Linked DNA regions of Homo sapiens: all the other regions are linked to region 2. The links are contacts of gene promoters, found by promoter capture Hi-C in blood cells and fetal thymus (Javierre and others, 2016). All regions are on one chromosome and are shown on one strand. The core of a region is centred on a gene start or on the middle of the fragment in contact, and the rest is flanking DNA. Distances in the headings are between cores, read along the strand shown.

Region 1 (4,223 bases), core at 1,167-3,666, 500 kb before region 2:
CTTCTGCTTGAGGAAAGGAGAGGGAAGAGTAAAATGGACTTTGCCTTGCAACTTGGGTACCAACTGAGCCACAGTAAAATAAAATACCAAACAGACCCCTAAAGACCCTGATTCCAGGCCTCAGCTCCTGAAGGATATTTCTAGACCTGCCCTGGGCCAGAAGGGAGCCCACTACCCAAAAGAAAGATCCAGTCCTGGCACTATTCTTCACCTGCTGACTAAAGAGCCCTTGAGCCTTGAATAAACATCAATGATAGGCAGGAAATAGCCGCCACCCAGGCCTAGGACAAGACCCCGTCCTGTGCTGGCTTCAGGTGTGACCCAGTACAGTCCCAGCAGTGGTAGCCACGGGAGTACTTGCATCACCTCTCTCCCAAATCCATGCAACATAGCACACAGAGAGAGACTCTATTTATTTGGGAAAATGGAAGAGAACAAGAGACTACCTGGTAATCCATGGAATTCTCTCAGGTCTTACCCAACACTGTCCAGGTGGCACCTCTACAAGTCTGCAAAAATCACAGAATTACTGGGTTTAGAGTGCCCTCTAATGCACATATGGCTGCAATGACCAAACACTTAGATTATAACACTCAATCATCTTTGAATACTTGGAAAGCCTTCTCAAGAAGAATGGGTGCAAACATGCCCAGACTGCAAAAATTAGAAGAAATACTTAACTCTTCAATGCCCAGACATTGATGAATACCCACAGACATGAAGACCTTTCAGGAAAACAGGACTTCACCAAACAAGCTAAATAAGGCACCAGTGACCAATTCCAGAGTGACACAGATATGGGACCTTTCAGACAGAGAATTCAAAATAGCTGTTTGGAGGAAGCTCAACACAATTCAAGATAACATAGAGAAGAAATTCAAAATCCTATCAGATAAATTTAACAAAGAGATGCAAGTAACTAAACAAAATTAAGCAGAAATTCTGGAGCTGAAAAATTCAATTGACAACTTGAAGAATACATCAGAGTTTCTCAACAGCAGAACTGATCAAGCAGAAGAAACAATTAGCGAGCTTGAAGACAGTCTATTTAAAAACACAAAGTCAGAGGAATAAAAAAAAAACAGAATACAAAATAATAAAGTATGACTATAGGATCTAGAAAGTAGCCACAAAAGAGCAAATCTAAGAGTATTGGCCTTAAAGAGGCGGTAGAGAGAGAGAGAGTGGAATAGAAAGATTATTTGAAGAGATAATAATGAGAACTTTTTAAACCTAGAGAAAAATGTCAATATTCAAATGCAAGAAGGTTATAGAATACCAAACAAATTTAACCCCCAGAAGACTATGTCAAGACATGTAATATTCAAACTGCCAAAGGTCAAGAATATATTGTGGGCTTTTTTTGTTTGTTTTTGTAGAGATGTGGTTTCGCTGTGTTGCCCAGGCTGGTCTCAAACTCCTGGGCTCAAGGAATCCACCTGACTTGGCCTCCCAAAATGTTGGCATTACAGGCATGAGCCATTGTGCCTGGCCCCAAAGGTCAAGGATAAAGAAAGCATCCTAAAAGCAGCAAGAGAAAAGTAAAAATGAACAAACATACAAACACAAAAGGAGTTTCAATATGTCTGGCAGTAGATTTCTCAGTGGAAACCTTATAGGCCAGGAGAGAGGGGCATGATATATTTAAACTGCTAAAGGAAAAAATCTTTTATCCTAGAATAGTATATTCAGTAAAAATATCCTTGAAACATGAAGGAGAAATACTTTCCCAGACACACAAAGGCTGAGGGATTTTATCAATACCAGACCAGTCCTATAAGAAATGCTAAAGTATCCAAAACTCAGGCAATAACAAGTGCTGGCAAGAATATGGAGAAAAGGGAACCCTTGTACACTGTTGGTGAAAAGGTAAATTAGTACAACTACTGTGGAGACCAGTTTTGAGGTCCCTCAAGAAACTAAAAATAGAATTACCTTGCAATCCAGCAATCTCACTCCTAGGTATATAACCAAAAGACAGGAAATCAGTATATCAAACATGTATCTGTACTCTCATGTTTATTGCAGCACTATTCACAATAGTCAAGATTTGGAAGCAATGTGTCCATCAACAGATGAATAGATAAAGAAAATGTGGCACATATATACAGTAGAGTACTATTCAGCCATAAAAAAGAATGAGATCCTGTCATTTGCAACAACATGGATGGAACTGGAGGTCATAATATGAAGTGAAATAAGCCAGGCACAGAGAGACAAACATTTCATGTTCTCAATAATCTGGGGACCTAAAATTTGAAACAATTGAACTCATGGAGATAGAGAGTAAATGGATGGTTACCAGAGGCTGGGAAGGGTAGTGGTGGGTGGTGAGGGAAAGTGGGGAGAGTTAATGGGCACAAAAAAAATAGAAAGAATGAATAAGACTTAGTATTTGCTAGCACAAGAGGAGGGCTATAGTGAAAAATAATTTAGTGGTACATTTAAAAATAACTAAAAGAGTATAACTGGATTGTTTGTAACACAAAGAATGGATAAATGCTTGAGGTGATGGATACCTCATTTACTCTGATGTGATTATTACATATTGTATTCCTGTATCAAAACATCTCACATACCCCATACATGGATATACCTATCAGGTGCCCACAAAAATTAAAAATTAAAGTAAAAAAAAAAAAAAAAAGAAATGCTACAGGGAGTTCTTCAATCTGAAAGAAAAGGACATTGATGAGCAATACGCAATCATCTGAGGGTACAACACTCTCTGATAGCAGTAAGTACACAGACAAATACAGAATATTATGCCACTATAATTGTAGTGTGTAAACTACTCACATCTTGAGTCAGAGAATAAAAGATGAACCTATCAAAAGTTTTGAACAAGTTTTGAAGACGTAGAAAGTATAATAATATATAAATAGAAAAAACAAAAAGTTAAAAAGCAGGAGAGATGAAGTTAAAATGTAGAATTTTATGAGTTTTATCATTGCATGTTTGTTTGTTTTTGCAATCAGACTTAAGTTGTCATCACTTTCAAATAATGGGTTATCAGTGGAACAGAATAGAGAACCCCCAAATAAGGCGACACACCTACAACTATCTGATCTTTGACAAGCCCGACAGAAATAAGCAATGGGGAAAGAACTCCCTATTCAATAAATAGTGCTGGGACAACTGGCTAGCCATATCTAGAAGACTGAAACTAGACCCCTTCCTTACAACCTAAACAAAAATTATAATAGCTCAAGATTAATTAAAGACTTCAGTGTAACACCAAAAACTATAAAAACCCTAGAATAAAACCTAGGCAATACCATTCTGGACATAGGAATGGGCAAAGATTTTTTTTTTTTTTTTAGAGCCACAAGTAGTTCTGATTTTATTTAATTTCAAAAATTTTACTTATACAGAATAGTTGTACATATTTTCAGAGTACATGTGATAATTAAATAATTCATATAATTTGTAAAGATCAAAACAGTACATTGGGATATCCATCACCTTAAATATTTGTCTTTTTTATCTTAGAAACATTTGAATTATTCTTTTTTAGCTATTTTGAAATATACAATAGGTCATTGTAAACTATAGTCACTCTACTGATCTTTCAAACACTAGGTCTTGTTTCTTCTTTCAAATTGTACATTTGTACCCATTAATCAACCTCTTTTTATCCTCCCTCCCTTCTATCCTTCCTGGCTTCTGGTAACCACAATTCTACCCTCTATCTTTATGAGATCCATGTTTATTAGCTCCCGCATATGAATGAGAACATGCAATATTTGTCTTTTTGTGTTTGGCTTATTTCACTTAACATAATGACCTCCAATTCCATCCATGTTGCTGCAAATGACAGGATTTCATTCTTTTTATGGCTGAATAATATTTCATTGTGTATCTATACCACATTTTCTTATCCATTCATCCTTTGATGGGCACTTAGGTTGATTCCATATTTTGGCTATCGTAAATACTGCTGCAGTAAACATGGGAGTGTAAATATCTCTTCAATATATTGATTTCTTTTCTTTTGGATGTGTACCCAGTAGTGGAATTGCTGGATCATATGGTAGCTCTAGTTTTATTTTTTTTGAAGGACCTCCATATAGTTTTTCATAGTGACTGTACTAATTTACATTCACCAACAGTATATGAGGGTATCCCTTTCTCCACATCCTCACCAGCATCTGTTGTTGTCTCTCTTTTTGATAAAGCCATTTTAGCTGGGGTAAGATATATCTCGTGTGGTTTTGGTTTGA
Region 2 (4,033 bases), core at 826-3,325:
CTCCTCCCCCACCTTGCTATCCACCGAGGCCCCCATGTTCATAGTCTCTGCAGATAGTCCTGAGAGTGGAATGGCGGACTGGGGTGCAGGAAGGATCCTGCAAGACCTCACAGTAGAGATGTCATGCGCACTGTGTGGGAAGAATGAATGCAAGTGCTCCAGGTCCACAGTGGGAGGAAAGGCATTCTGGGCAGTGGGAAGTAGAAGTAGCCTCATGTGGCTGGAGCCAGAAGCTAAAGTGGGAGTGCCAGAAGGAGGGCAGAAGCCATAGACCCTTGTGCACATACTGGAAGAGCTGCTTTTTTAACAGTCAAGTGCACAAGGGTCTATGCGGTGTTAAGATCACGATGGGAACATGCTGGTGGGCTAGGAAACTCAAGAGGTTAGTTCCAGAAGAGTCTGTGGAATTCTGCCCCACAGGCTCCGGAGGCATGGGGGGAAGGCCATAGAAGAGCTGTCGTGGGTAAGGAAGATTCCTGCAGCCGTGAAATAGCAAGCAAGCTAGGGAAGAACTCTAACAGGAGGCAGAAATGGAAGGGAAAGCACCATGCGGGGAGAGAAGTGTAGAGGCAGGCATCGGGGGAGCTAGGGGAGCCAGGCCCTGGGGGTTGGAGGGGAGGCGGCCGGTGGCAATGAAGGCCTTCGCCCACCCCTCTTCCGCCCCCTGGCAAGGCAGGTTGCTAATACCCGCCCTGGGATAGGGGTGGGAGTGGTTCTGGAACCGCCTTCTGAGACTCATTCCCATCAAAAGCAACACTTGGGGTGGAGGGAGGAAGAGGACGCCAACCCCAGTGCCTGGCCGGGTTCTAGATGTGCAGAGAACAAAAAGGAACCCTAAAAACCCAGCATCCCCTTCTCCGAGGGAGGCTTTCCTAGACCCAGAACCTCAGCCCACCCGGAACCCCTTTGCCCCTCTCTTAGCAGTGGACCTGTCATGTGGTTCCTCCTGGACTAGTGTAATCTCTGCTATGCGTCTTGTCCTGCCATGCTGAACTTCTCACAGTGCGGCCTCCGAAGGAGCCCCCATCTAGCGCTCCTTGCAGTCGCAGAAGATTCCTTCTCCCCTTACTGAGCCTTAGAGTTTTCCAAACCCATTTCCTCCTTCAAATCGCTGCAGCCTCGCGAGGGAGGCAGAATTCTCCCCATTTCTCGGACTTTGCAGGAGAGAAGCCTGCCTTCCCGGGGCAGGGTGGGGGTAGGTAAGTGAAGAAGCCAAGGTCACCCAGTCATTGGCGGAACGCGGCCTCGACTCGGTCCTTCTTCTGAGGGCCCTGTGGATCCCTGGCAAGGCAGGCCTAGGTTGCAGGCTAGCCCCCCTCTCTTTTCGTTGGCCCCAGGAGCCCGGCGGGCCTGAATGGCAGGTGAGCCCGGGGGGTGGGGACAGGACGCGGGTTGGGCTGCGCAGGGACGCCTGGCGCGCGGGCCTTGGGAGCGGCCGCCGGAGCTCCCTGCTACGCCGTATCTTCCGAGGGCCCACGCCTTGGGTCACGACTGGACCAGGGCTTTGACCAAGGGTCCTCTGTGTGCCCCAGGCCCGCCAGTCAGGCCCCGCCCCCCGGCGGCACGGGCGGGGGCAGGGGCGGCGCCGGCAGAGTGGGGCGCGGGCGCGCGGTGCTCGGTGCGCGCCGCCGCCCCTCCGGCCCGGCTTGCCCGCCCGCTCTCCCAACCCCCTCGGCCCACTCCGTCGCCCCCACCCCTCCTTCCTCCACTCGGCCAGGCGGCCGGCGGCCCGGTGCGCGGGGCAGCGCGACGATTGCGGCCTGGCGATCGGGGCACTGCGGTCGTGGCGCGCGAGGCGCGGGGCGCGAGGCCAGCCCTGGAACGGCGGGGTGTGGGGGGCGGGCAGCTGCGGAGCCCCCAGAGGAAAGCAGGGGCAGGCAGGGGGGTGCCGAGGTAATGGGCCGGGCCTGGGCGCCCGGCTGCGAGGGGCGGGGGTTCCAGGCGCACTTCGGCCCTGGAGGGGCGGGCGACAGGGTGCCCGGGGCGGTGGGAGGGCAGCGGGGAGGGGAGGAAGGGAGGGAGGAGACGGCTGGGCCGGACCGGGGGGCTTGGCCGACGGGGAGCAGGTGGGCGGGGACAGGGCCCCTGCTGGAAGAGGCGCAGCAGCGAGGTGGCGGGCTGCGTGCGCAAACAGGGCGGCCGCCTTCTGGGCCCGGAGAACGGTGAGGCCATTTGGGTTGGGTGTCCCAGTCCCGAGGGCACGGTTCGGTATCCAGGGCCAACGAGCTGGGTGCAGGGCATTGTTGAGGAGGGAAGATCTAGAGGCCTGTCCGGGCCAAGGGGATGGGGCGTATTGAACAGCTCCGGGAGAAGAGTGTTGCTGGGTCAGGGCGCTGGTGTCCAGCGAAGGTGGGCGAGGACAGGCACTTTCAGGGCTGGCCTGAGTGGAAAGGGACAAGGGGGCCCCAGAGTTTGAGTTTGAGCATAATTTGGGAGTTGTCGTGTCACTGGGTGGGTCGATGAGTCATGCGATTTGGAGAACCCTTTCCTGGCGATCAGTTCTGAGGGATGGAAATAAAGTCTAGGGTTTGGAGAAGTGGTTTGGAGGCCATGTCTTGGGACACCAGGTGCTCTGGTGGTCACCAGGCTTCATGTGAGGGACTTTGGGAGTTGTGTCCCAGAGGCCTGAGATTCAGAAGCTTCAGTCTGGGGTGGAGTTAAGCAAGGTCTTTGTGGTGGCCAGTTCCCTGCCTTCCTTCCTTTCCAGGCTGTCAGGATTCAGCTGTGTTCCTGCGGGGAGTGGGTTAAAAATTCCTTCCGCCTACAGTCAGCTTTACAGTATCCACCAGGGGCATGGGGGACATATACATGTGTGGCTGCAGCATCATTCTTTGTCGTGGAGCCCTCACGATTGCTTCCTTATTGTTGCCATAGTAACTGTCTACTGATGGTGTATTTATAGGGGAAGAAGCAGGCGCTACATTTTGGGGAGGGAGGGGGAAGAGGCCTCGTGGCAGGCAGCAGCAGCAGTGAAGGTGGCTACAGAATTGCTAATGGAGTGGGCCATGCCATGGGAACTGTTTTGGGGGTGTTCCTGGCTCGACTGAAGCTTAAAAATGAACTGGTGACTTTAGCAGGTGCGTCAGGATAACATGTATTCGGGTCTATGATAGGTGTGACATATAGCCACCTTTGACCAAGGCTAGGTGTGTGGGGGACAAAAGATGGATATATGTAATCTATTATGTAAATTTTTCTCCATTTTTTTAAAAAACCACTGCAGTTTCCTTTGATAAGCATATTTTTCTCTCTTCCCTTATTAAGACTATATGCATTCTTCTCAAACCCAGATACAACAGCTCCATTTTTCTTCAAGCAAAAAATCCTTGCCATGAGGCATACTATATCCACACCCTCACCACATAAAGCTCAGGTATCCATAATGCAAGCAGAATTTTGAGATCATATTCCATCTTGGTTCTGACAAACATTGAGGGCCAACTGTCTCACAAGGCAGGCCATCTGTTGACAAATTCACATGTTGATAGTTTTGAGGGAGATTGTTGCAGGGTTCAAAAGAGAAAGCCCCTTGATGTGGCGTTTCCACAAATAGATGTCAGATCTGCTGTTTTACCTTTAATTTTCTTTTCTTTCTTTTCTCTCTTTCTCTCTTTCTTTCTCTCTTTCTTTCTTTCTTCCTTCCTTCCTCCCTCCCCTTCCCTTCTCCTTCTTTCCTTCCTCCTTCCCTTCCCTTCTCCTTCCTTCCTTCCTTCCTCCCTCCCTCCCTTCCTTCCTCCCTCCCTCCCTCTCTCCCTCCCTCTCTCCCTCTCTCCCTCTCTTTCTCTCTTTCTCTCTTTCTTTCTTTCTGGCTTTGTAACCCAGGCTGGAGTGCAGTGGCGCAATCTCAGCTCACTTCAATCTCCGCCTCTCTGGTTCAAGCGATTCCCCTGTCTCAGCCTCCAGAGTAGCTGGGACTACAGGCATGCACCGCAGCATGCCTAACTAATTTTTGTATTTGTAGTAGAGATGGGGTTTCACCATTTTTTGGTCAAGCCAGTCCCAAACTCCTGACCTGAGGTGATCCGCCCGCCTC
Region 3 (4,020 bases), core at 34-2,533, 480 kb before region 2:
CTTTGATGAGGCATCTGTTCAAATCTATGGCCCATTTTTAAATTGGTTTGTATGTTTTCTTGTTGTTGAGTTTTGAGTTCTTTGTACATTTTGGATACAGTCCTTAATCAGATATATGTTTTGCAAATATTTTCTCCTACTCTGTTGTTTGTCTTTTCGTTCACTTAACAGAGTAGTTTTGAATTTAATGAAGTTTAATTTATCATTTTTTTCTTTTATAGATTGACCTTTTGTTAAAGTCATTACCAAAGTGAAGGTCACTCAGATTTTCTCCTTTGCTATCTTCTAGAAGTTTTATAGCCTTGCATTTTACATTTAACACTTATAGTCTATTTTAATTATATCTATTTAATTTGGGGAAAAGGTGTAAATTCTGTCTCTAGATTCTTGTGGGGCTCTTTGTTTATTTGTTTTTGGGCTTTAAAAAATCTTTTTACATGTGGTTGTACAGTTGTTCCGGCACCATTTGTTAAAAAGAATGCTTTTTTCCGTTGAATTACCTTTGCTCCTTTGTCAAAAATAAGTTGACTATATTTGTGTGGAACTCTTTCTGGGCTCTCCATTCTCTTTCATTCATTTATTTGTCTGTTCTTTCATCAATACCACACTACCTTGATCACTGTAGCTTTATGGTATGTCTTGAAGTGTGATAGTGTAAATCTTCTGACTTTGTTCTTCTTCTTGGATCTTTCCTAAGCATGTACACAATCATGGGCATATGCACAGCCTTAGGCGTATGTGAGGTCTTCCAGATTTCCAGGAACATTTTGGAGCTTTTTAAAGCCCTCTATGGTCATCTCATTCCCCAGTTTTTCCTCTCAAGTTTTTTGGTCAGCTTCTTATTAATCCCAACTGATAATGTAGCCTCAGGCAGTTCCGATATTAATTGCCAATGATTGTTTTCGACAAATGCCTTGGGGATAAGCCTATTAACACAGAGTAAGCTCTGAGTCAGCTCAAAGAATGACAACTCCTGAGCATGGAACTTTTCTGCAAGTTATCGGACAATCAGAATAGCTGACAATTGGAATTTCTCTGGGGATGGGACCTTTGGATGCTTGTAAACCTCTATGCCCTTTCTAGTGGCTACTAGGTTACTGATTTTCACAGCTACTATTATTGGGACACTGTTGGTTTTTAAGGTTACTATGGGACTAAGGGAGAGGAATGGAAGTAGGGCAAGTTAAAGCACCATGAAACTCACTGTTCTTACCAAGATGTAGTGATTTTTTTCTTGAGTAAACGCTCTGTGGATTATTGCTAGCCTTAGGTTAATTTCTGGAGTTCTAAAAAATTTGATTTTTCACAGTTTTTATGGTGAAAAAAACTTTTTTTTTCACCATAAAAAAAGACTTCATTGCTTTTATTAAGAAACACATTTTTGGAATTCCTTACTCTGCCATTCTAGAAGCGGTCTCCTGTACTTAGATTTTTTTCATTTGGGTAGTATGTCATGGACCCACTCCACATCAGTTCATAGAGATCTTCCTTATTCTTTTTTGTTTTTTTTTTTTTTACAGCTGTATGGAATGCCACTGAGCTGATGTTGCATAATTTATTTAACCACTTTTCTATGTTCAGGCATTTAAGTTGTTTCCAATATTTTGCAATTACAAACTATGCTGCAATGAATAACTTTGGCCATATGTATTTTTGAATTGTAAAAAAAGTTCATATTCGAGGATAGTTTCTTAGAACTGGGATTTCTGAGTTGAAAGGTTATGTTAGCTGTTGCCAAATTCCTCCTCAAAGAGTTGTACCGGTTTGCATTCTCAGTAGCAATGAGAATGCCTATTTCCCTAAGACTCATCAACAGAATTGGCAGTTACACTTTTGGGTGTCTGGTCCTTTGACACTTAGTCTTTTAAAATTTCCAATTACTCTTTATTTTTATAGAGTTGCTAATCACAAATTATGCCTGAGATTTGATATTCTTGTGAAAGTATTTCAGATCAAATTAAATGTCTTTTCAGTGGCTATGATTCACCATGATTAAATCCAACATGTTTGACCAAGTTGTTAATTGACTGTTCTTAATTCTGGTGGAAGTTCTGGAGATCAGCAACAATTTTGGAATAGGTTCAGCAGCCTGGGTAATTCTCATCACAGTCAAGCCAGATAGGGACTGAGATTCTATTACTGAATGAAACTCTTATAAGGGCTTGGGAGTGCAGATAGGGGGAGTTCTCAAGAAATTTTACAAGAAAGTGTTATGTATTATGAAGCATGGGTTATTGTTTGTTTGTAAGTAAAAAAAAATAAGAGAGAGAGAGAGATTAAGCAAAATAAACATTAAGCAAGGAGAAGCTGCTCTAACCATTTAAATGATACTTTTAAAATGAAGATTAACAGCCTTTGGCAGACTAGAAGAAAAAAAATAAAAGAAAAATGTCAAGCAGAAAACAGTTACCACAGATTTGATCAGTATTTACTATCAACTGTAAGACCGTTCTAGGCAGGTGGGGTCTATGGGAAATACAAAGATAAATGAGAGAGAATCCCCTAAAACCAATAATATTGCTTTATGTTTAATTTATCACTTATTAAGATCCTACTATGTGACAGACACCACTTCAGGCACTTGACTTCTCTTATTTCTTATCCAAAACATTGCTGGGTTGATATTATTACTCCCATTTAACAAGAAGGAGATTGAGGCCAAGAAAGGTTAAGAAACTTGTCTAGAGTCACAAAGCTGGAAAGTTGTGCAACTTGAAACCAGATCTGCTTAGAGAATGTTGAATATCAACTGTGCATAGTATTTCATAGTAAATTATATTAAGATTAATCAAACCAGTTTAGCCTAAGAGAACAGCAGCAATAGCTAAACTTATTAGATATTTTCTATATGCCTAGAACAGCATTGAACAAATATGGACCATTATATTTAGTCTTCAGATTGAATTTTTTTTTTTTTTTTTTTTTTGAGATAGGGTCTTGCTCTGTCACCCAGGCTGGAGTGTAGTGGCACAATCACAGTTCACTGCAACCTCTGCCTCCCAGGTTCAAGCGATTCTCCCACCTCAACCTCCAGACTAGCTGGGACTACAGGTACATGCCACCACACCTGGCTAATTTTGTATTTTTTTGTAGAGACGGGATCTCACTATGTTGCCCAAGCTAGTCTTGAACTCCTGGGCTCAAGTGATCTACCCCCTTCGGCCTCCCGAAGTGCTGGGATTACAGGCGTGAGCCATTGCATCCGGCCCAGACTGAATTTAAATCCCTGCATTCTCTACATTCTCTATAAGACTACCACCTATCTCACTGCCTATGTTAAAATCCTGGGTTTCATCCAGGACTCCTACCTTACCCACATAATTTGGTTTATAAATCCAGTAAATTCTGCCTCTTTAATAAGTCTTTATCTTTTTTCTTAATCCTTATAGTCACTACCTTATTTTGATGCACCATTATCTCTCAGATGGATTACTTTAAGTTTCTGAACCCCTCTCCCTGCTTTTCTAATTCACATTCACCAAGTCAACAGAGTGTTCTTTCTAAACTGCAGATCTAAACATATCTCTCCTCTTAAACCAGGGAAGCATACTCTAAACCTCCAGCTTGATAGTACACTACTTTGACCCACTCTGTACATTAGGCTTATTGAACTGCCTGCCTATCTCTGGTCCTGCCTGGTATGTCCCTTAATATTTTTTATTTGTACAAATTTAAGGGGTACGAGTGCGATTTTGTTATATGGATATATTGCATAGTGGCAAAGTCTGGGCTTTTGCCCCTCGATTTTTAAGAGTTCTTCATATATTAGATAGATCTGTCCTTTCTCTGTGTTATATGTCGTAAATATTTTCTACCAGTTTGTCACTCATGTTTTGATTTTGTTATGGTGCATTTGTTATGCACATTCTTAAAATGTAATCAAATTTAATAGACTTTTATTGCCTCTGGATTTTGAGTCATGGTTAGAGAGCCTTTCCCTACACCAAGGTTAAAAAGAAATTCACGGATGTTTTCTTCTAGTAATTGGCCTGGTCTTATTTTTTACATTTAGCTCTCTAA

What was found. The method cuts DNA at HindIII sites, captures the fragments that hold promoters and counts their contacts. A CHiCAGO score of 5 or more calls a contact.
Region 1: a fragment that was not itself captured here is called in contact with the fragment with the promoter of PRRG3 in region 2 in 1 of 17 cell types (total CD4 T cells); the score reaches 6.0 in total CD4 T cells.
Region 3: a contact is called between a fragment that was not itself captured here and the fragment with the promoter of PRRG3 in region 2, in 1 of 17 cell types (activated CD4 T cells). The highest score is 5.4, in activated CD4 T cells.

The regions. Positions count from the first base shown.
Region 1 is chrX:151,191,823-151,196,045 of GRCh38, forward strand. No RefSeq gene overlaps it. Among named protein-coding and RNA genes, the nearest start is that of GPR50-AS1, 16 kb to the left of the region's middle. The HindIII fragment of the contact is 8,683 bases long and covers 1-4,223 here.
Region 2 is chrX:151,693,383-151,697,415 of GRCh38, forward strand. PRRG3 (proline rich and Gla domain 3) reads left to right here and starts at 2,076. Exons shown (of 4, transcript NM_001372163.1): 1 at 2,076-2,162. The HindIII fragment of the contact is 4,373 bases long and covers 1-2,637 here.
Region 3 is chrX:151,215,840-151,219,859 of GRCh38, forward strand. No RefSeq gene overlaps it. Among named protein-coding and RNA genes, the nearest start is that of GPR50-AS1, 40 kb to the left of the region's middle. The HindIII fragment of the contact is 5,772 bases long and covers 1-4,020 here.